2 separate regions of the Homo sapiens genome follow, and region 2 is linked to region 1. Evidence: promoter capture Hi-C in human tissues and cell types (Jung and others, 2019). All regions are on one chromosome and are shown on one strand. The core of a region is centred on a gene start or on the middle of the fragment in contact, and the rest is flanking DNA. Distances in the headings are between cores, read along the strand shown.

Region 1 (5,993 bases), core at 1,684-4,183:
ATTTACTCATTTGGAACACTAGAAATCCCTGTAAGCACAGCTCAAATTTATTACAAGTTAATTCATATCCCCTAACAACTACGCAACCAAAGTCTGACACGATCCACTCAGCACATCACTACAAAAGTCCCCCAAAGTCAGTATTAGAGCCGTTCTATTGAATTCCTTTTTTTCTCAAATTTAACATAAGACTTAAGAAGCATTAAAATAGCAATAAAAATTCCAATGATTGTTACAAGAAACAGACTCAGGTTTAAGTGCATGGCTACATATCATTTTTCTGTAACAACATATTCTCAATAATTAACTCTTTGGGACAGTAATGTGATTCTAAATATGAAATAATAGGAGAACTGGTTTCTAAATCCAAAATTTCGAGAGAATTTCCCAACCTCAAATTCCTCAATGGCAAGAGCACAGTACAGGTTGTTTGTATTACATTACAATCCATTAGAAGTATAATCCTTTTTCAAAACTGAGAACAGTAAAAAGAGGAAGCATACTCAAATTTTTCTAAGGTTTCTTCTAGTCCCAACAATAGTCCTCTACACCAAGTTCTGCTTATCTAAGTTTCAGACACCAAGTTGATATTAGTTCACTCTACATTACTTAGTTTCTAATAAATGTTTCCCTCAAATCCTCAAACTAAAAATCTTAAAATATGGAGATGTATTAAATGTTGAGAAAAATTAAAAATCTTTTTCAGAATTTCCAAAGGACACAAAGCAAATTTTAGTTAGAACAAAAATTCCCATCTCTTCTACAGTTTATCTTTTCAGATTGCTGAGAAACTCTTTAAATGCTGAAAGTAACCAAATTATAGGAGACAGTAGAGGAATGGAATCGTTTCCTTAGGTAGTACCATAAGTTTAAAAAAAAAACTTTTAAAATCACATTTTATTATTCACTAAAATGTTTTTCCTTAAAACTGTTATTCTTTAGTGTGATACAAAGTGAATTTTTTAAAAATCTTAAGAGTTAAATCTAAATAACATGCCTCCACTGTTTTCCTATGTTTACTTTTTAGAAGTATTCTACTTACATTTTAGTTTCCTTTGAAGCACAAGTCATTTAAGTAGGCAAAAGTTAAAATATTTTGTAATTATAAAAACGAATGAATGCACTCTGGTAGGCATGAAAAAAATAAAAAATTTAAAAATTTAAAATAAAACTATACCCATTTCCTTTCATTGATAATTCACTATAATCAATTATAGAATGCACAAAGTGTAAGGGAAAAAGGCCAATAATGCCTGAGAAACTAACCAATGTAAAAGAATTAAACTTTATGTAATTCATTTACCATGCAATCCTCCCCAATATAAGAACAATTAATGCTATCTAAGAAACGGAATGAAGGGGCTCCTAAGGTATTTTCTCTTGGGTGGTGTGTTTTCAGACTGGGTAAGCACTTGTACAGAATGTTGCACAAGAGATTCCTGGCTGGCTAAGTAAAGCATTCACTAGATGGACTCTAAAGTCTCACAGTTCTAAGATTCCCAATCTATGAGTAGACGTGAAAAATAAGAAAACATTTTGCCTTTCAATTAACCCATTGGCTTTCACTCCCACCCTAGCTGGGCACACACATACTCAAAAGTTATTTCTCCCCTTTCTCTGCAGTGATTTCACGAGATCCTCGCGAACAAAAGGCACGGAAAACAGGCACAGGTGGAATAAAAAGGGGAGTGGCTGAGGCCAGGCGGCTCTCGGGACAGCGCCCCCACGCCCCCAGTTCTCCCGGCCGCACCTGAGAAATCACTGCCCTCCGCACCTGAGAAATCACTGCCCTCCACACCTCGACCCTTCCGCGCCGGCGCCAGGAGCAAATTCTCCGACCTATTACCCTCCGCCCGTACCTTGGCCAGACACTGGGCATTGTCTGGAGCCTCCTGTGCCAAAGAAAGGCAAGGAGGAAAGGAAAGGAGAGAACGAAGGAGAAAGAACAAGTGAGAATAAAGAACGGAAAGGGAAGTAAAGCAACAGGGAGACCGTACGCTCCTTTTGGTAAAATTAGCTTCCTCATCGATCACTCGATTTAATTCAGCCCCCAAAACCAACCCACCAGCCCAAAGGCTGCAGCCGGGGGTGGCCAAACCGGAGTCCCTCGAAGCTGTGCCCGCCCGAAGCACTGAGGCAGGGAGAGAGAAATGTGCGTGTGGGCTGGGCCTGGCTGGCCCGAGGCCGGGCTCCGAACAAAGCCGCCTGGGTCCCCATACCTGGGGCGAGGGCTCTGGGCGGCGCCGCCCCAGACGGGCGACGCCCTAGCCCCGCGGACCTGGCCCGGGCGAGGAATCGCGGCCGGTCCCCTCCCCGCCCTCGAACAGCGCCCCTTGGGGACAATGGGCCCCCTCCCCCGCCTCCGGGAGGAGAGATACAAAGGAAGAGAGGAGCCGCCGGGCGCGAAGCCAGGCGTCGGGAAAAGTGAAGGTGGAGGAGGGAGAAGGAACAAGAGGGGATCACGGCGCACGCAGGAGCCCGCGGGCTGCTCCCCCGGCCGTCCCGGGCGCCGCCCGAGCTGCACCACGGCGGCAAAGGCGGGAGCACGGACTAGCGGCCCCCTAGACCCCCGGCCGAGAAGGGAAGAGGAGTCTGCACACAAAGACGAGCGGGACCCTCACCCTCCGCCAGCGCCGGACCGAGGACGGCGGAGCGCGCTTTCACCGCCGAGGGTCCGCGGCGCCCGCCCAACCCGCGCTTCTCAGGGGCCGGGGTCCGTGCGGGGCGCCCCTCTCCCCGACTCACCCACAGCTCCGTGCCCCAGCTCATGGCGGAACTTTCTGGCCGTCTGGCGGTGCCGCTGTCCTTCAGTCTGTCGGCTCCACAGTCTGTCCGACCTCTCACTCGCTGGCCGGCGGGCTAGCAGCTCAGCGGGTCTACCTCGAAAGGTGCCGCCACCGCCGGGCTCCCCAGTGAGTGAGAAAGACGCGACTGGAGAAGCCTCCGCCGCCGACGCGTCCCCGCCTCCCCGCGCTGGGCGGGAGGGGGCCGGGGCCGAGGGGAGGCGGAACGCGGCGCGGGGAGGGGGCGGGGCGCAGTGCATCCTGGGATCGGGGAGGACCTGGGCTAGCCTGGCCACCGCCGGCGGGGTCCCCAAGCGGGCACCTGGTCACCCTCGCTGGCCCCTCTCGCTGGTCGAGTCTCCTCCTGCAGGTACCCCGGAGCTTGGACTGCCCCCACTCCGCTGCCAGTCGGACCCCTGTTTCCAAGATAGAAAGGGAGAGAAGGGAAAAGACCCCCACCGCCGCTATTATCTCATTCCTCCTCTGCGCTGAGCCCCTTTACATGAGGCAATTTTAGTTACCTGCCTTTCCTGCCTCTTGTCTCCTCCACTCGGGAGAAACCTTGACAGGGAAGCGTCATCCAAATCCTAGAGTTTAGACTGAGGAGAGTTGTGTTTTATTTTTTTAAATCTTGATGCTTAAGGTGATCTCTCCTTTCAAGCCTGATGCTTTGGCATGACGATTCTTGGGAACCACCAAAATGTGCACAGGTTGAACAGCAAATGTGAAGGCAACATGTCCCCGATTCTGTCTTTAATTAAATATTTTAATTTTATAAATTCTGTCAGGAAATTATAAAAAGAGGCAGCTCTTCCAGTAATCATTTAGGTATGTTGCCAGCGCACGAGATGGAAGACGTGGACAAATGTGAGCCGAGCTGTCACCTGCGGAAGATGAGAAGGCAGCTTGCCCCATGTCTGGAATGGGCACCTCGTGGGTGAGGGTTGGATGGGAGCCAGATTTTTCTCTGGTAGTGTAAACAGCTTATTCGGAACTTCAGATCTCTTTCACCTCCCAGTATCGGAACCTTGGAGGCAGGTCCACTACTTCCTTTTTTCTCTATGGAGCTACTTCCTGGCCTATCTCCATGGAAAGGCTGTTAGCTAGTTTGGCTGGTGCTACTAGATATCAAGTACGCTGAGCAACTCCCTAACATATGCTTTAGTATTAATAGCTTGTCTCCTAAAGCAAGCAAGCGCACACACACACACTTCAAAACAGTCAACTAGTAGAGTACTCCTCAGTGCGTCATGACAGCTGGGTGTTTTAGGAAGCTCTCCCAACGGGTTCTTTGTCAGCATTGAAACTCCTCCCCTACCTGGCCTGGACAGGTGTTCCAACCTCTTCCGCTTAATCCGTATTCTTTTGCCTAGCTGCGCTCCCTCTTGGAGTTGAGGCCAACAGCCTGAGTTCGCCTGACAGTCCAGTTGCTAATCTTCCTAAATTCTCTGCTGTCCTTTTCTGAGGCCACTTTAAGCATACAAATGCCCTCTTCCAAGTGGGTTATAGCCAATTTTTAAATGCTTAACTTTGTACCATGCAGTGAAAAGCCTGTGAAGGATTGAACAACACTTTCTAACATTTTTCTACATTGCCTCTATTCCAAAATAATTTCTTCGTTTATTTATGTCACCTAACACTGTTAACCGCCTCTCCCATCACTTCCTATCACTCCCTAGAATCATGAATGTATTTTGCAATTGCAAGTAACATTAATTAGTAAGGGGAAATGGATTTTTTTTTTTTTGAGACGGCGTTTCACTCTTGTCACCCAGCCTGGAGTGCAGTGGCGCGATCTCGGCTCACTGCAACCTCCACCCCCCAGGTTCAAGCAATTCTCCTGCCTCAACCTCCCGAGTAGCTAGGATTACAGGCGCCTGCCACCACGCCCAGCTAAATTTTGTGTTTTTAGTGGAGATAGGTTTTCACCATGTTGGCCGGTCTGGTCTCGAACTCCTGATCTCAAGTGATCTGCCCCCCTCAGCCTCTCAAAGTGCTGGGATTATAGGCGTGAGCCACTGCGCCCAGCTGGGAAATGGATTTATTAAATGGGTGTCATTATTTAGCACCACAGCAATACCAAGATTTATTATATCTAAGTATTGTCATAAAAGCTAAGACCTATAGAATATAATTTAAACCCAAGTTAAAGGATTTATCTTTTTTTTTTTTTTTTTTTTTTTTTTTTCTGAAACAGAGTCTTGCTTTGTTGCCCAGCAGTGCAGTATTGCCATCTGGGCTCACTGCAACCTTCACCTTTCCAGCTCAAGCAATTCACCTGCCTTAGCCTCCCAAGTAGCTGGGAGTACAGGTGCTCACCACCACACCTGGCTAATTTTTTGGATTTTTTTGTAAAGATGGGGTTTTGCCATTGGTGCCCAGGCTGGTCTTGAACCCCTGGGCTCAAGAGATCCAACCCCCTCAGCCTCCCAAAGTTTTGGGATTACAGGCCGTGAGCCACCACGCCCAGTGAGGATTTCCCTTTAAAGTAAAATAATCTACTGTTCACATTAAAATTTTCAACCGTGCTGTTTATGTAATTTCCCAAATGAACATAAAGCTCACCTCCTACATGAAGACTTTTTCTTCTTCCAAGGTTCTGAAGCAGGATTCCACAATTAAAACAATTCATTTCTCTTCAAAAAGCTAGATTTGGGGGCATCAAGGGTTTTCTTATTTGTTTTTGTTTTGAGACAAGGTCTCCTAATGTCCTGGAGACGTTAGGAGTGGCTGGAGTGCAGTGGCACCATCATAGCTCACTGCAGCCTTGACCTCCCAGACTCAAGTGATCCTCCCACCTCAGCCTCCTGAGTAGCTAGGACCACAGGCACACAACCACACCTGGCTAATTTTATTTATGTATTTATTTTTATTTATTTATTTATTTTTGTAGAGACAGAGGTCTCACAATGTTGCCCAGGTTGGTCTCAAATTCCTGGACTCAAGTGATCCTCCTACCTCAGCCTCCCAAAGTGATGGGATTACAGGAGTGAGCCACTGCACCCAGCCCTGCATCAAGTTGTAATATTCAAATTTAAATAAAATTTCTGTTACCCTCCATTACTATAAAATTTTTAATATAATTCATATTACCACCTTAAATAATCTCTTCTAAAGAATTATTTGTAATTTATAAAATTCTTTCATGACATTAAAAGTCACTGGTTCAACGATGTTTAAGCAAAAACAATTAAAAAGTGAAAACTTTCA
Region 2 (5,993 bases), core at 2,167-4,666, 330 kb before region 1:
GGGCTTTGTAGATAGGCAAGGATCTCCTCACCTTACTAGTTGTGCGACCTCAGGCAGGTTATCCTCCCAGAGCCCTGTTTTCATCATCTGTAAAGTAGGGCTGGTGTAATAACTTGCTCAATTGTATGAAGATTAAATGATAAGTATGTAAAGCATTTGCATAGTATTTTACACTATGTTCAAAATGATGGGCATTATCAATATTAATTGATGTTAATATTAATATTCATGGACTAATGAACAGAGGACCCGCTGCCCGGTTCCTTTATGGCTGTTCTGGCACACACTGAGGGTCAGCAAATTACGGCCTGTGTATCAAATCCAGGTTGTTGGCCATGTGGCCCATGAGCTAAAAGTGGTTTTTACATTTGTAAATGGTTGAAAAAAATCAAAAGAAGAGTATTATTTCATGTGTGAAAATAACATGAAATTCAAATTTCAGTGTCCATAGAGTTTTACTGGAACATAGCCATGGTTGTTTCTTTTGTATTGTCTTATTTTCTGCCTCTCCAAGAAAGCTTGCTGACTCCTGGCATAGGCCAAGTGGACTAGGGGCAGGTGCTTTAGTCAGCTGGACCTTGGAGAACTGGGCAATCTCCTCCACTCCACAGCTCTATACATGGTGGCTGCCCTTCTTTTCCTACTGGCCCTCCCCTGGGGTTCCAGAGTACCTTTTGTTCAAGCCAGCCCCACTTGACCCAGGGCACTGGGATCTAGATTTCTGAACAATGAGCCAAATCATTGCAGAATCATAGGGGGAATCAGGACAAGGCTGTTTTGAGATTAAAATGAAATAAAATATGTGAAAGTACTTTGTAAATGCAAAGGATGTTATTATTTAGCAAGTAATGGTTAAGGGGTATCAGTGAGGTTTTTTACTCTTCTTAGTAAATTTAGTAATGTATGTTATGTTCACTTTTAACAAAATGTATTATTAACCAGAATACCCTAATTTCTGTCCAGATCAAAAAAGATTTTAAACCAAATGAAACCATCCACAATGCATGTCAAACGCACCCCCAAAATGGAGTTTTGAGCTTCTAGCCCTTTCTGCAAAGAAAATCCTGGCTCCTCCATCTTGTTTTTTTTTTTTTTCCTCTCCTCTTCACTTCCTGTTTACCATCTCCATTTTCTTTTCCAGTCTCTGTGCCTGTGCTTTGGGCCACTTGATTGCTTTGGGTGGCCAGAGTAGAGAGCAGATGAATGTCATTGTGTTTGAAGAAGCCAAGGAAATGTGACAGAAGAGTTTTAAGAGAATCATCAGCCCAGTGTAGACATTTCAAGTGATGTTAAGAGTTGGAGTGGAAGAAACATTATGAGTCAATTCCTCAGTCACTATTATGGGATAACCAGGATTTGGTAGGAAAAGCAGAAGGAAGAGGTAGATGGCATAAGAATCAAAGATCATTTGTACAAAGGAGAGTTGAGCAAAGTATCAGGGGAGCTAGGACAATGCTGATCGCTTCTGAGTCCCCACAGGATGTGGGAAAATGAGCAGCCTTCCATGAAAAAGGTGGCAAAGGAAGGCCACAGAGGAGTCCTGTAAGGGAACAGAAAAGAAAAGGCTGAGGTTTGGGTGTTGTCTACCTTAAGCAGGCCCTGAGGGTGGGAGGGAATTCCAGGAGCAGTGGGGGATGAGGTCAGTGGGAAGGAGGTTGGAAACAATGTGGGTTTGAGGATGAGAAGACATGTCCTGAGGGGTTTACCTTTTGGGTGGAGGCCAAGGGCAACAGGAACCGGAGTCACCTAGGATTAGCTGGTCCCAAATTGTAAATGAAGCACTGGGGTCATGTTGTTCACATCCTGGGATTGGGGGAGGAGGGAAGAGGTGGGCATGAGAGGCCCTGCTGGGCTGGAGGTGGGTATTGCAGCTGCCACATACCATTCCCTTGCTGCAAAATCCTTTAGCAGAATGTCTGCTATCCAGGAGTACGTGCATTGTTAAGTTTGTTCTCATTTCCTGAACAACTTACGCACTAAGCAATTACTTAAAGCGCTGAAGGAAGAGGCTCAGGTTTCTAATGACATTCTGTCAACATGACTAATGCTACCCTGGAACACCCTTCCCCTAGGTATCTGCATGGCTCACTTTCTTTTTCAACCAAGTTTCCCTCAAAGAGGGGTCTTCTCTGATCCCAATACCCAAATAGCCCTACTCATCACTCACTATCCTCTTGCCATGCTTTATTTTTCTTCATTTTACTTATGTCCACCGACTCATCCTTATTTGTTTATTAGTTGGTACCTGTCATTCTCACTAGAATGTAAGCCACATGAGGTTAGGAGTTTCCTTTTGTTCTCTACCCTATTCTCCACTGCTGAAAATAGTGCCTGGCATACAACACAGCTCAATAAACAGCTGTGGGCAAATGAATGAATGAATGACTTGGCCCTGGCCAAGTCATTGGACCTCAGGAATGGCATCTTTCAATTAGAAGTTGTTGCTACTCTAACGATTTTGTTAATCATTAGGTGGCCTATCTTCACCATGCTTCCTATACAAAAGTGAATTGCCTAAAACTCAGCATCGGCGCTTCTCCCTCAAAGTTTTAGACAATAAACTCTGACTGTTTGAAACTCAGCTGTTTGCCTTCACCACTCCTCCTCCCATCTTGCCTCCTCCCATCCTCCTCAACTGCTTTTTCTGATGTTGGCCAAGATATCAGAACCTGAGATTAGTATCAGAAAATTGAGCTCCTACCATGACCCCACACCAAAGCTTGAGGCTTTCAATAACAAAGACAGACACCCTCCTTTCTCCAAGAGCCTATATATTGTGAGGGAATTGATAATTAAATATGTGATTGTATAATGGTTTAATGAGAACCACAACAGGGGAGGTGCTACCTTCAGAAAGGCTTCCCTCGAGAAATGATACCTGAGTATTAAACTGCAGGATGAGTAGGATTCAGCTGAGCAAAGAAGGGTTGGAGAAAAGTAGACAGCAGGGAAAATCCCTGATCCTAGAGAAGTGGGTCTTGTTGGAGGAGCCAGAACTGGCAGGTGGCTGGGAACCCAGTAGGAGGTGTGAGTAGTGGGTAAAACCAGGGCTGCAACAAGCGTTAGAAACAGATTATCCTAAGGCAAAAATAACTCCCTTTCACTGCTGCTGCTGGTTTGGTTGGCAAAAGGAAAAAAAAAAGGACTCCATGATTTTAGTAATCAGATTGCTGGTAATAATATTGGTATTATTATTCTGATACTATTCACTATATATATAATAGGATAGAGCAAATAAGTAATTAGGCTAATGTTGATAGAAACCAAGATTCTTCACCATAAGAGATGCAAATATAAAATTTTTAAAATTGTAAAAATTCTGTAATTTTAAATTTGAATAAAATATATTAGTGTAAACTAATGATACATTTTCTTATCTTAAATCTGTTTCCTATCTCTGACCACTATTAAGGCCTAGAAACAATGACCAGTCAAATGCAGTCCATGCCCCTAGTACCGGTTTGTAGTCTCTAAATTATGCTTCCCACCAAATGGAACCAGGGTTTATTTCAGAAATGGATGGTCCAGAGGAGGAATTGCATATGATGAAGCTTAAACACCATGATATACCAGATAGTGAGGGAAGTGTCAGAGATCCCTGGGGTCATGTCAACAGGACTCAGAAGTCAACTTGTCAAGGCTCTCACTGGCCACAAATGGGACAATGTTAATATGAATAAGAATAACTAAAAAGGACTGAAATCCACATGAATTCTGTTGGAAATTCACAAGTTTATAATGATGTTCAAAAAAGAAAAATAAAGACCATTGTTCACCTTTGGATAATACTGGGGAACCAACTCATTATTCTGAAAACAGGAAAGCAAAGCAAAGGAATCTACATTTGCCATATAAATTGAACCTCAGGGTAACCAAATAGTGGAGAAGGGAATGTTTCTTTCTATAGGAGTATTCCAGCCAATAATTTAGAAGAAATATTGGGCCAGGTGTGGTGGCTCATGCCTGTAATCCCAGCACTCTGAGAGGCCAAGGCAGGAGGATTGTTTGAGCCCAGGAGTTTGCCACCAGCCTGGGCAACCTAGCGAGACCCCCATCTCTACAAAAAAAAATTTTAAATTAGCCAGGCACAGTGGTGCATGCCCGTGGAGGAGGAGGAGGAGGAAGAGGAGAAGGAAAGAAGAAGAGGAAGAGGTGGAGGAGGAGGAGGTGGAGGAAGAGGAAGGAGGAGGAGGAAGAAGAGGAGGAGGAAGAGGAGGAGGAGGAAGAGGAGGAGGAGGAAGAGGAGGAGGAAGAGGAGGAGGAAGAGGAAGAAGAGGAAGAAGAAGAGGAGGAAGAAGAAGAAGAGGAGGAAGAAGAAAGCAGAAGAAATATTATTTGCAAGCTCTTAAATAAATAATAATTCTGGGTATCAATAATTGTATTAGTTTCCTATGGCTGCCATAACAATGTACCACAAACCAGGTGGCTTAAAACAACAGAAATTTATTGTCTCGCAGCTCTGGAGGCTGAAATCAGAAATCAAAATACTGACAGGGCTGTGTTCCTCTGAAGCCTCTAGAAAAGAATTCTTCCTTTTGTTTGCCAGCAAGCAATCCTCAGCATTCCTCTGCTTGTAGAACCATCACTCCCTTCTCTGCCTCCATGGTCACATGGCTGTCTTCTCCCTGTGTCTATCTGTGTTCAAATTGTCCTCTTATAAGGACTGAATCAAGGCCCACCCTAATCCAGTATGACCTCATTTTAACCTGATTCCATCTGTAAGAACCCTGTTTCCAAATGAGGTCACGATCACAGGCACAGCGTTGGTGGGTAAATGTTCAACATATCCTTTTGGGGAACATAGTTCAACCCGTAATAATCATCAAGGGCAGCCTAGATCACAAATAGGAAGACATAAGACTTTATTTTCTGGCAGAGCATACCACCTATTGGCAAAGAATTAGACATAAATCAGAGTAAGTCTAGATCTACCTACCAATTTACAGGAAGTAGAGAGTACAAAAAGGCATGTTAAAAAATACCACAGGCAGTAGAATCAGCAAGATCCAGAATGTGGGAAACTCTACAGGACTAATAACTTGGTTTCTTCAACAAATAAATTGCAAGGAAATTCCAGGAGAGAGCTCTGTAAATTATAATAAAATGGACATAATAGACGTAACAACCAAATACAATATATAGATTTTGTTTGAAAATTTGAATACTTACTAGATATTTAATAAAATAATGGCTTATCGACAGTTTAAAAAACTTAATTATATTGTGGTAATGTTTACAAAGGGGAGAGTCTTTAACTTACAGTAGTACATTTCCGCAGATAAAATGGCATGTTTGGGGGTGGGAAGACAGTAGGGCGTGGGTTGGCTATGAAACAAAGTTAGCCAAGTTAATTAATGAAACTTGGTGGTGGGGACATGGGGGTTCATTATATTATTATCTCTGCTTCATATGCGGACATTTTCTATCCTATAAAATTAGAAAGAATTAACATGCAGTATGTTTAGTTAATGCTTCTCAGCTTGGGAAGTATCAGAACCTACCAGATACTGCTGAGGATACCTCCCTCCCTCAGCCTCATTGAGATCTTCTATTCTAGATACTTTCCTAGGAAATTGAGTTTCTCTTTTCAAACTTATTCACTGCAGCTTGATTGCTGATGGAAACCTTTTGTTTGCTGGAAGCTACTGGCTAGCTGACGAGAATACTTTTCATTAGGCAAGAAAGGAATTTTTCAAAACCCCTTTTATTATAAAAGTCCTAGGTACATACAGAGTCAAAAAGAAAATTCAAAAAGTGCAGAAAAATTAAGATCACTCCTCCCCAGTTCTACTTCCTGGAGTCTTCACTGCTTCAAGTTTCTTGTGAATTGCTCCAGACATTTTTCTAAGCATATACAAAAATAAGCATGATTTGGACCTTTCTGTAAGCCTAAGTATGTTTGCAACTTCGCTTTTTTTCCACCCAGCAATATATCTTAGAGACATTTTCATAGCAGCAAATACACATCCTCCTCTTTTTTATTCCATTATGTG

The links. Contacts are between HindIII fragments. The study calls those that stand out against the background at their distance.
Region 2: a contact is called between a fragment that was not itself captured here and the fragment with the promoter of FNBP1L in region 1, in 1 of the 25 tissues and cell types used here (H1 embryonic stem cells).

Annotation. Positions count from the first base shown.
Region 1 is chr1:93,445,058-93,451,050 of GRCh38, reverse strand. FNBP1L (formin binding protein 1 like) reads right to left here and starts at 2,933. Exons shown (of 17, transcript NM_001164473.3): 1 at 2,746-2,933. The coding sequence starts at 2,769. RefSeq lists silencers at 2,776-2,825, 3,765-4,059 and an enhancer at 2,306-3,284. The HindIII fragment of the contact is 21,665 bases long and covers 1-5,993 here.
Region 2 is chr1:93,775,673-93,781,665 of GRCh38, reverse strand. It overlaps a transcript of BCAR3 not described here. Among named protein-coding and RNA genes, the nearest start is that of MIR760, 68 kb to the left of the region's middle. The HindIII fragment of the contact is 3,593 bases long and covers 1,620-5,212 here.